2 separate regions of the Homo sapiens genome follow, and region 1 is linked to region 2. The links are contacts of gene promoters, found by promoter capture Hi-C in blood cells and fetal thymus (Javierre and others, 2016). All regions are on one chromosome and are shown on one strand. The core of a region is centred on a gene start or on the middle of the fragment in contact, and the rest is flanking DNA. Distances in the headings are between cores, read along the strand shown. Region 1 overlaps TLK2 (tousled like kinase 2). Region 2 holds the start of LIMD2 (LIM domain containing 2).

The links. The method cuts DNA at HindIII sites, captures the fragments that hold promoters and counts their contacts. A CHiCAGO score of 5 or more calls a contact.
Region 1: a fragment that was not itself captured here is called in contact with the fragment with the promoter of LIMD2 in region 2 in 1 of 17 cell types (erythroblasts); the score reaches 6.0 in erythroblasts.

The regions. Positions count from the first base shown.
Region 1 is chr17:62,603,282-62,607,009 of GRCh38, reverse strand. It overlaps TLK2 (tousled like kinase 2), which reads right to left. Exons shown (of 22, transcript NM_006852.6): 20 at 769-880. Among named protein-coding and RNA genes, the nearest start is that of MRC2, 23 kb to the left of the region's middle. The HindIII fragment of the contact is 3,362 bases long and covers 746-3,728 here.
Region 2 is chr17:63,698,801-63,702,371 of GRCh38, reverse strand. It overlaps LIMD2 (LIM domain containing 2), which reads left to right and starts at 2,247. Exons shown (of 5, transcript NM_030576.4): 1 at 2,247-2,340; 2 at 3,024-3,115; 3 at 3,303-3,344; 4 at 3,434-3,571. The coding sequence starts at 3,074. LOC729683 (a long non-coding RNA gene) reads right to left here and starts at 2,034. Exons shown (of 1, transcript NR_046273.1): 1 at 1-2,034. RefSeq lists silencers at 269-348, 1,539-2,498, 2,589-3,048, 3,139-3,368 and enhancers at 769-868, 664-1,248, 1,249-1,834. The HindIII fragment of the contact is 14,945 bases long and covers 886-3,571 here.

The DNA.
Region 1 (3,728 bases), core at 1,177-3,676, 1.1 Mb after region 2:
CAAGGAGAAGCTAAAGAGGAAGGTATAATCTGAATTAAGAGCCTGGTCTGGGGAATGTAATCAAAATATTAAGAATTCAAAGGACACACAGAACTCCCATCTGGCTTATACCCACAGCCTACTGGGAAACACTGAAACAAACAAACACACAAAAACAGCAATAGGAACATAAATACACAAATGGATCCTAATATATACATTTATAAGGCATGTTCACAAGGAAAAACAAATGTGACAATTCATTAGGTGTAGTTTACCACTTGTTGAAATATGTCACCTTGATCAGAGGTAACAATGAATACATCCTGACACCATCTCCCCAGTATAGAAATATAAAGCACGCTTTCATTAATAATAGGTTCAACTAATGGGATGGCTGGCGATAAAGATTCTGGGGATATTTTGAGTTTTGGTTCTTGGGGCCCCCAGGTTCTTGGGAAGATTGTATACTTTAATAAATAAACGATTTTTGTAAATCCCTATACACACTATCAGAATAAATACATGTTCCAGATCTAATTGAGAACAGCAAAAGTGCATGTTTTTAACAGCCCCGCAGAACTCATTAGGTGCCCTAGGGTTGAGGATTTCTGCTTACGAATAAGGCTTGTATTATTAAGTCTGTATTTTCTTTAAACCACTCCTTTCAGGATTCTATTTTGTATAACCCAATAATTAACTCCAATAGACTAATCCATACCAAGGCACTGTGTGTGTGTGTGCCACCCAAGAAAGAGATCAAGCTTCTCCATCAACCTTCTAACTTACCTTCCTTCCATAAAGACACTGATAGAAGATCACACCCACCGACCACACATCAACTTTATTTGAGATCTTTGGTGGTTCTTTCCCAACCACAAAACACTCTGGTGGTAAATACCTGGGACAAAAAAGAAATATAAATTATTAGAATAATGATCATATAAGTTTAAGACATGTACAAAAAGACAAAATAAAATATCTTGTTGAAAATAGAAATATCGTTTTTTTTTTTTTTTTTTTTGGAGACAGGGTCTTGCTCTGTCACCCAGGCTGAGTACAGTGGCGTGATCATGGCTCATTACGGCCTCAACCTCCCGAGCTCGGGTGGTTTCCCCACCTCAGCCTCCCAAGTAGCTGGGATTAAAGGCAGGCACCACCATGCCTGGGTAGTTTTTAAAAAAAATTTGTAGCAGTGGGGTCTCACTGTGTTGCCCAGGCTGGTCTCAAACTCCTGGACTCAAGTGATCCTCCCAGCTCGACCTCCTAAAGTACTGGGATTATAGGTGTGACCCACCACACCTGGCCAAAATATATGAATTTTAACAGTCAACTTAGACTTATATGGAAAGTCAATGAAAAGACACTCTAGGCGGGGTGTGGTAATCCCAGCACTTTGGGAGGACAAGGCCAGCAGATCGCTTGAACTCAAGAATTTGAGACCAGCCTGGGCAACATGGCGAAACCCTATCTCTACTAAAAATACAAAAATTAGCTGCGCCTGGTAGCACACCCCTGTAGCTCCAGCTGCTTGGGAAGCTGAGGCGGGAGGATCACCGGAGCCTGGGGGAGGTTGACTGCAGTGAGCCAAGATCATGCCACTGCACTCCAGCAAGAGAGTGAGACCCCCATCTCAAAGTAAGAAAAGACACTCTAACTTAGGGAGGCAGTAATGTCCCTATAGGGCATCAAAATAGTTCTCAATTTCCTAAGAGTGGTAAATATTCTCACTAGTCCCACTTCACTCACGATCTCGGCTCACTGCAACCTCTGCCTCCCAGGTTCAAGCGATTCTCCTGCCTCAGCCACCCAAGTAGCTGGGATTACAGGCGTGTGCCACCACGCTGGGCTAATTTTTTGTATTTTTAGTAGAGATAGGGTTTCACCGTGTTAGCCAGGATGGTCTCGATTTCCTGACCTCGTGATCCGCCCGCCTCAGCCTCCCAAAGTGCTGGGATTACAGGCATGAGCCACTGCACCTGGCCAGTTCTTGATTTTTTAATATACATAACTTAAATATGATCTTGGATAAGTATAACCTTAATTCTAAAATGACCATTTAAATATATTTGTGACTTTTTTATGGCAGTGGCAGGAAAGAATAGGAGTTGTTGAACTCATCCAAATGCAGAAAAATAAGTTAGCAAGATTTTTTTTTTTTTGAGACAGAGTCTCGCTCCATTGCCAGGCTGGAGTGTAGTAGTGTGACCTCAGCTCACTGCAACCTCCGAATAGCTGGGATTTCAGGCGTGCACCACCACGCCCAGCTAATTTTTTTATTTTTAGTATACACGGGGTTTCACCATGTTGGCCAGGATGGTCTCGATCTCTTGACCTCATGATCCGCCCGCCTTGGCCTCCCAAAGTGCTGGGATTACAGGCATGAGCCACCACACCTGGCTAGCAAGATTTTTAGAATATAAAAAGACCTGTCACTTGATTGTACATGTCTGGCAAATCCCTTTCTAGGTCTCAGTTTCTCCACCTGTAAGTGAATGAAATTAATTCTTCATCCAAATAATACTGAAAATAATAAGCATTCTAACTTACTATCAAGGATTTTGAGAGGAGAGTAAAAGACAGCTCTATGATACTAAACTGTGCTAAAAATATATATATATATATGTATATAGTTGCATATTCCATCACAATCAAAATCCCCATACAAAAAAACAATTATTCTCAAGGCATAGTCTATGGGTCACTTCTTTAAAATAAGTATTCAGCCAGGCGTGGTGGCTCACGCCTATATTCCCAGCACTTTGGGAGGCCGAGGCGGGTGGATCACCTGATATCAGGAGTTCAAGACTAGCCTGGCCAACATGGTGAAACCCCATCTCTACTAAAAATACAAAAAAATTAGCTGGGCGTGGTGGCGGGTGCATGTAAACCCAGCTACTTGAGAGGCTGAGGCAGGAGAATCACTTGAACTCGGGAGGCGGAGGCTGCAGTGAGTTGAGATCACACCATTGCACTCCAGCCCAGGCAACAAGAGCGAAACTCCGTCTCAAATAAATAAATAAATAAATAAATAAATAAATAAATAAATAAATAAATAAAGTATTCAATGTAGAAGAATTCTGTAACCAGTAAATACTGCAAATAGTTACTTATAATTTGTTATACCCTTCAGGATTATTTTTATCTGACATACTGAAGATAGTGATTATGACAGTATTTCTACCAATTTGGAGACTCTTCAAACCTTCATAGAAACCTGTAACACTTAATCTTCTCAGAAGCCCTGTCTTAAATTATTAAAAATCTCAACTATAATCTAAAGCAGAAAGAACAGTAAAATGACCCCCTAAGTAAGCACCATCCAGCTTCAAGAATTATCAACATGTGGCCAATCTCCACCATTTCTCCCAACAGACTACTTTGAAGCAAAATCCCTAGCATCACATAATTTTTACTTAAATTCTAATCACTGAATTTTTGTAGGTAAGCAACTACAGCAGTAACTATTTTAAATGCAAAAAAACTGTGCCTTAAAAAAAAAAAGATCAAACACAAAGCTCAAATCCAAATTCCAGTGAATTTATATAGCAGAGGTATAGACCTGTTTCTAGAATTTCCAGCAGCAGATATTTTTGTATCACTTAGTGACAGGAACACTAGCCCACAATAACCACCACAGTGAATAAACATTGTAAATGCAGCTTCTATTTTAAATCTGTAATTTCAAAGTTTTAATTTAGGGACTGACTTTTTACAACAGGTACCATTTCCACAAGCAGTAAGGAGCA
Region 2 (3,571 bases), core at 998-3,497:
AATCTGAGGCTCCCTGCAGTGCTTCCAGGGCACATGGCTTACCCTTCTCCCAGTCCCTCAGGGGGAAGGCCCTCCCCCAGCTCAGGCACCTCAAATGCCCCTCTAACCTGAAGCTGCACTGAACCATCAGGTGCCCTTGCTTTCCGTTTCCTCCCAAATTTTAACAGCAGTTTAAAGAAGAAAAGTAAGCCTCTTTGGGCAGTGAGAGGCTAAGGTGAAGGGAATGACACTGACCCTGGGCTAGGATGGGGCCTGGGGCGAGTGAGTGTCGGGGGCGGCGGGGAGCATTTCCGGCCCTCCTCCCCCTGCTTTAAACCTCAAGTTCCCTTCGCCTCGCCCCGCCCTCCCCCCCCCACACACACACAAACACAGAGTCTGTCGCCCAGGCTGGCGTGCACTGGCTTCATGTTGACTCACTGTAGGCTCCACCTCCCGGGTTCAAGCGATTCTTCTGCCTCAGCCTCCCGAGTAGCTAGGATTACAGGCACACACCACCACGCCTGGATAATTTTTGTATTTTTAGTAGAGACGGGATTTCACCATGTTGGCCAGGCTGGTCTTGGACTTCTGACCTCGTGATCCACCTGTCTCTGCCTCCCAAAGTGCTGGGACTACAGGCGTGAGCCACCGCCGAGCCAAGTTCCCTTTTTTTGTTTGTTTTTGACGCTGGTCATCAGTTTCCTTTGCTTCTGGATGCCTTCTGCACCTTGCTGTTGGGGCATCCTCAATGCCCATCTGCAGCTCAGCCCACAGGCCCGTCCTGGGCAGGGTGCCGGGGCCTCACCATGCCCAATGGCAGCAAGCCCTGCTCCTAGTACCCCCGGGGCTTCCCGTTTCTTGCATCAAACAGCCCCTTTGGAGAATCTGATGACAGGTGTGGAAGCTTTCCCGAGAGGCAGCCACTTTAGAGGGTCTGACGCTCCCCACTAGAGAGTCGGCCCACAGTGCAGACAAAACGCAGATCTTCCTCTAGAGAGAACAGAAGGCTGGAGAGGAGACGCGGAGCCGGTCCGTGGAGTCCGCCAGCCTGGGAAACAGCTGGTCGCTGGGGAAGCTGCAGCCTCCCTGCTCCCCTGCCAGGCGTCGGGCGAGAGCTGTTCTGTTCCCTGACAAGCGCGTGGGCCGCCAGTGCTATTCCTGCCACAGTGTGGGAAGGCGCTGGGCTAAGGGCTGTGCTTCCCGGAGCTGCTTCTAGCCTGATTTCCGGCCAAGCCACGCAGTCCCTGGTGCCCGGGAAGGCGCCGGCCTCGCCGCCGCTCCAAAGCGAGTGGCCGTCTCTCGCCGGCTGTGCCTCCGGCCTGCTGTGCGGCTGCAGGGAGGGAGCAGCTCTGCGGCCCAAGCTCTGTCACCTCAGCTCTCTGGGCCGCGGCTCCCACGTGAGAAATGAGGTGCGCTTGTTGGAGAGGGGGCCCCCGTTGCTGCCCACAGAATTCCGCCCCAGAAACGCTTGAGTACGTGGAGCCTCGGGGGACGGGTGCTCCGGGAACCACGCATACCGGCCTCCCCAGCCCGTCGCAGGGTTGCAGAGGCGCCGAGGGCTGGGGGGGCTGCCGGGGCTGCCGGGCCCTCGTGCAGGCTCCTCCCCGCAGCCTCGCGGCCGGGCCTGGAGACCGCGTGCCCGGACGCCGCCGCCAGCCTCGTGGGCCGCAAAGGGGCGGGGGCGGCCCCTGGCGGCGGGAGGACTCGGCCGCCCGAGGGACCCCGGGCCAGGCTCCGGGGTCGCCCCGGCTGGGTCTCTGCGGCCCCACAGCTCTGGGCGGGGATGGGGGCGCCGGCGCCTACGCGCGAGGCCAACCGGGGGAAACCGAGGCAGTGAATGGCCCAGGCCCCGCCCGGTTATCCCGGAGCCAGGCCGGGAGCGCCCAGTGTCCCGCGACCGCAGCCGCCGCAGCCTGAACTCGTCCCCTCCCAGTAGGATGCGGAGCGCGGCCCTTCCATCCTGTCCCTGCCACCGTTGCTTCCCCACGCCGGGCCGCCGTCGGGATGGGCAGACGGCGCGGCCGGTACCCGAGGCCTGCGAGCGCGAGGCCCGCGGGGCGCTGCGGAGCCGGGAGCGCGGAGCCGGGGCGGGGGACAGACAAAGGCGGGGACGGCGGCGAGGGGAAGACAAAGCGCGGAGGGGGGTCGGCGGCGGCGCCGGGGCCCCGAAGGCGGCTCCGGGCGCGGCGGAGCCAATGGGCGGGCGCGGGGCGGGGGCCGGCGGGGGCGGTGCAGCGATAAGGCGGTGGCGGCGGCGGTGGCTCGGGGACCACTGGTAGCGGCAGCAGCTCGCGCCCGCGCCCTCCTCGTACCCGTGCGCCCCCGGAGACCGATCCCGCCCCGCGGCCCAGGCCGGGCCTGGTGAGAGCCGCGGGGGGAGGGGCCGCGTCCGGCTCCGGAACCGGGAGAGGCGCCGAGGGGTGTGGGGTGAGGGCCGCCCGTGGGGTCCCGGCGAGTCTGCGAGCCGCTCTCGCCCGGGGCGCACAGGCTCGAGTCCTCGTTTCAGGGCCGGCCCCCGGCTGGGCGGAGCCGAGACCCGCTGGCGGGGCTCGCGGCGTCGGGGTCTGGGGTCCGGTCCTCGCGGGGCCAGGTCGGGGGCCGAGGGGCGGGGCGGGCGGGGACCTCGGGCGCTGTCCAGGGGCTGCGCAGCCTAGGCCTGGACGCCCGGGCGCGGCGCAGGGCAGCGAGGGCCGGGGTCAGGTCGGGGCAGCGGCTTCTCATCGCGGCCCCGCCGGCCCCGACCTCCCCTCACCCCAAGCGGTCCCAGCCCGCGGGACGCACACGGCGGCTGCGCGGGAGCCCCCGGCCCCTCCGCTCCCGCTAACTTTGTTCTTCCGAGGGACGGTGCCACTCGGGACCCCGGCCCCTGGGGAGCAGGGGTGGGGGAGGTGGGTGAGGGGCGGAAGTGGCAAGACCAAGAGCAACAGGAAATGACTTAGGGAAAGTCCCAACCGCAATCCCCCCAGCCCCTGCCTGTCAACACCCCCCACCCTGCAGGCTGGGGCCGGGCTGGCGGGGCCCTCCCGACTGACTTCCCCTTGCAGAACCCAGCGGGTGCCGCTTCTCCACCCGAGGCTTCCACCTCCAACGAGCCATGTTCCAGGCTGCAGGAGCCGCCCAGGCCACCCCCTCTCATGTAAGTGCCCGGCTGGGTGGGAGGGCCCCCCGGACAGGAGCCTGGCCTGGGGTGAAGGGGAGAGGCATCAGAGTTTGCCGGCCCCCTTTGTGCCCTGCGGCGCGCCCCTGGGCCTTGGGCTGATGGCTGCAGCCCTGATCCAGGGCCTCCCGGAGCTGCCCCTGCCCTGACCGCCCCTCTCCCTCAGGACGCCAAAGGCGGCGGCAGCAGCACGGTGCAGCGCTCCAAGGTAGGGGCCTGGGGCCGGGTGTGCGGGAGGAGGGGTGTGAGGGAGCGGGATGAGCACTGGGGCAGCACCTGGCTGAGCTTCCCGCACAGTCCTTCAGCCTGCGGGCCCAGGTGAAGGAGACCTGCGCCGCCTGCCAGAAGACCGTGTACCCCATGGAGCGGCTGGTGGCCGACAAGCTCATTTTCCACAACTCTTGCTTCTGCTGCAAGCACTGTCACACCAAGCTC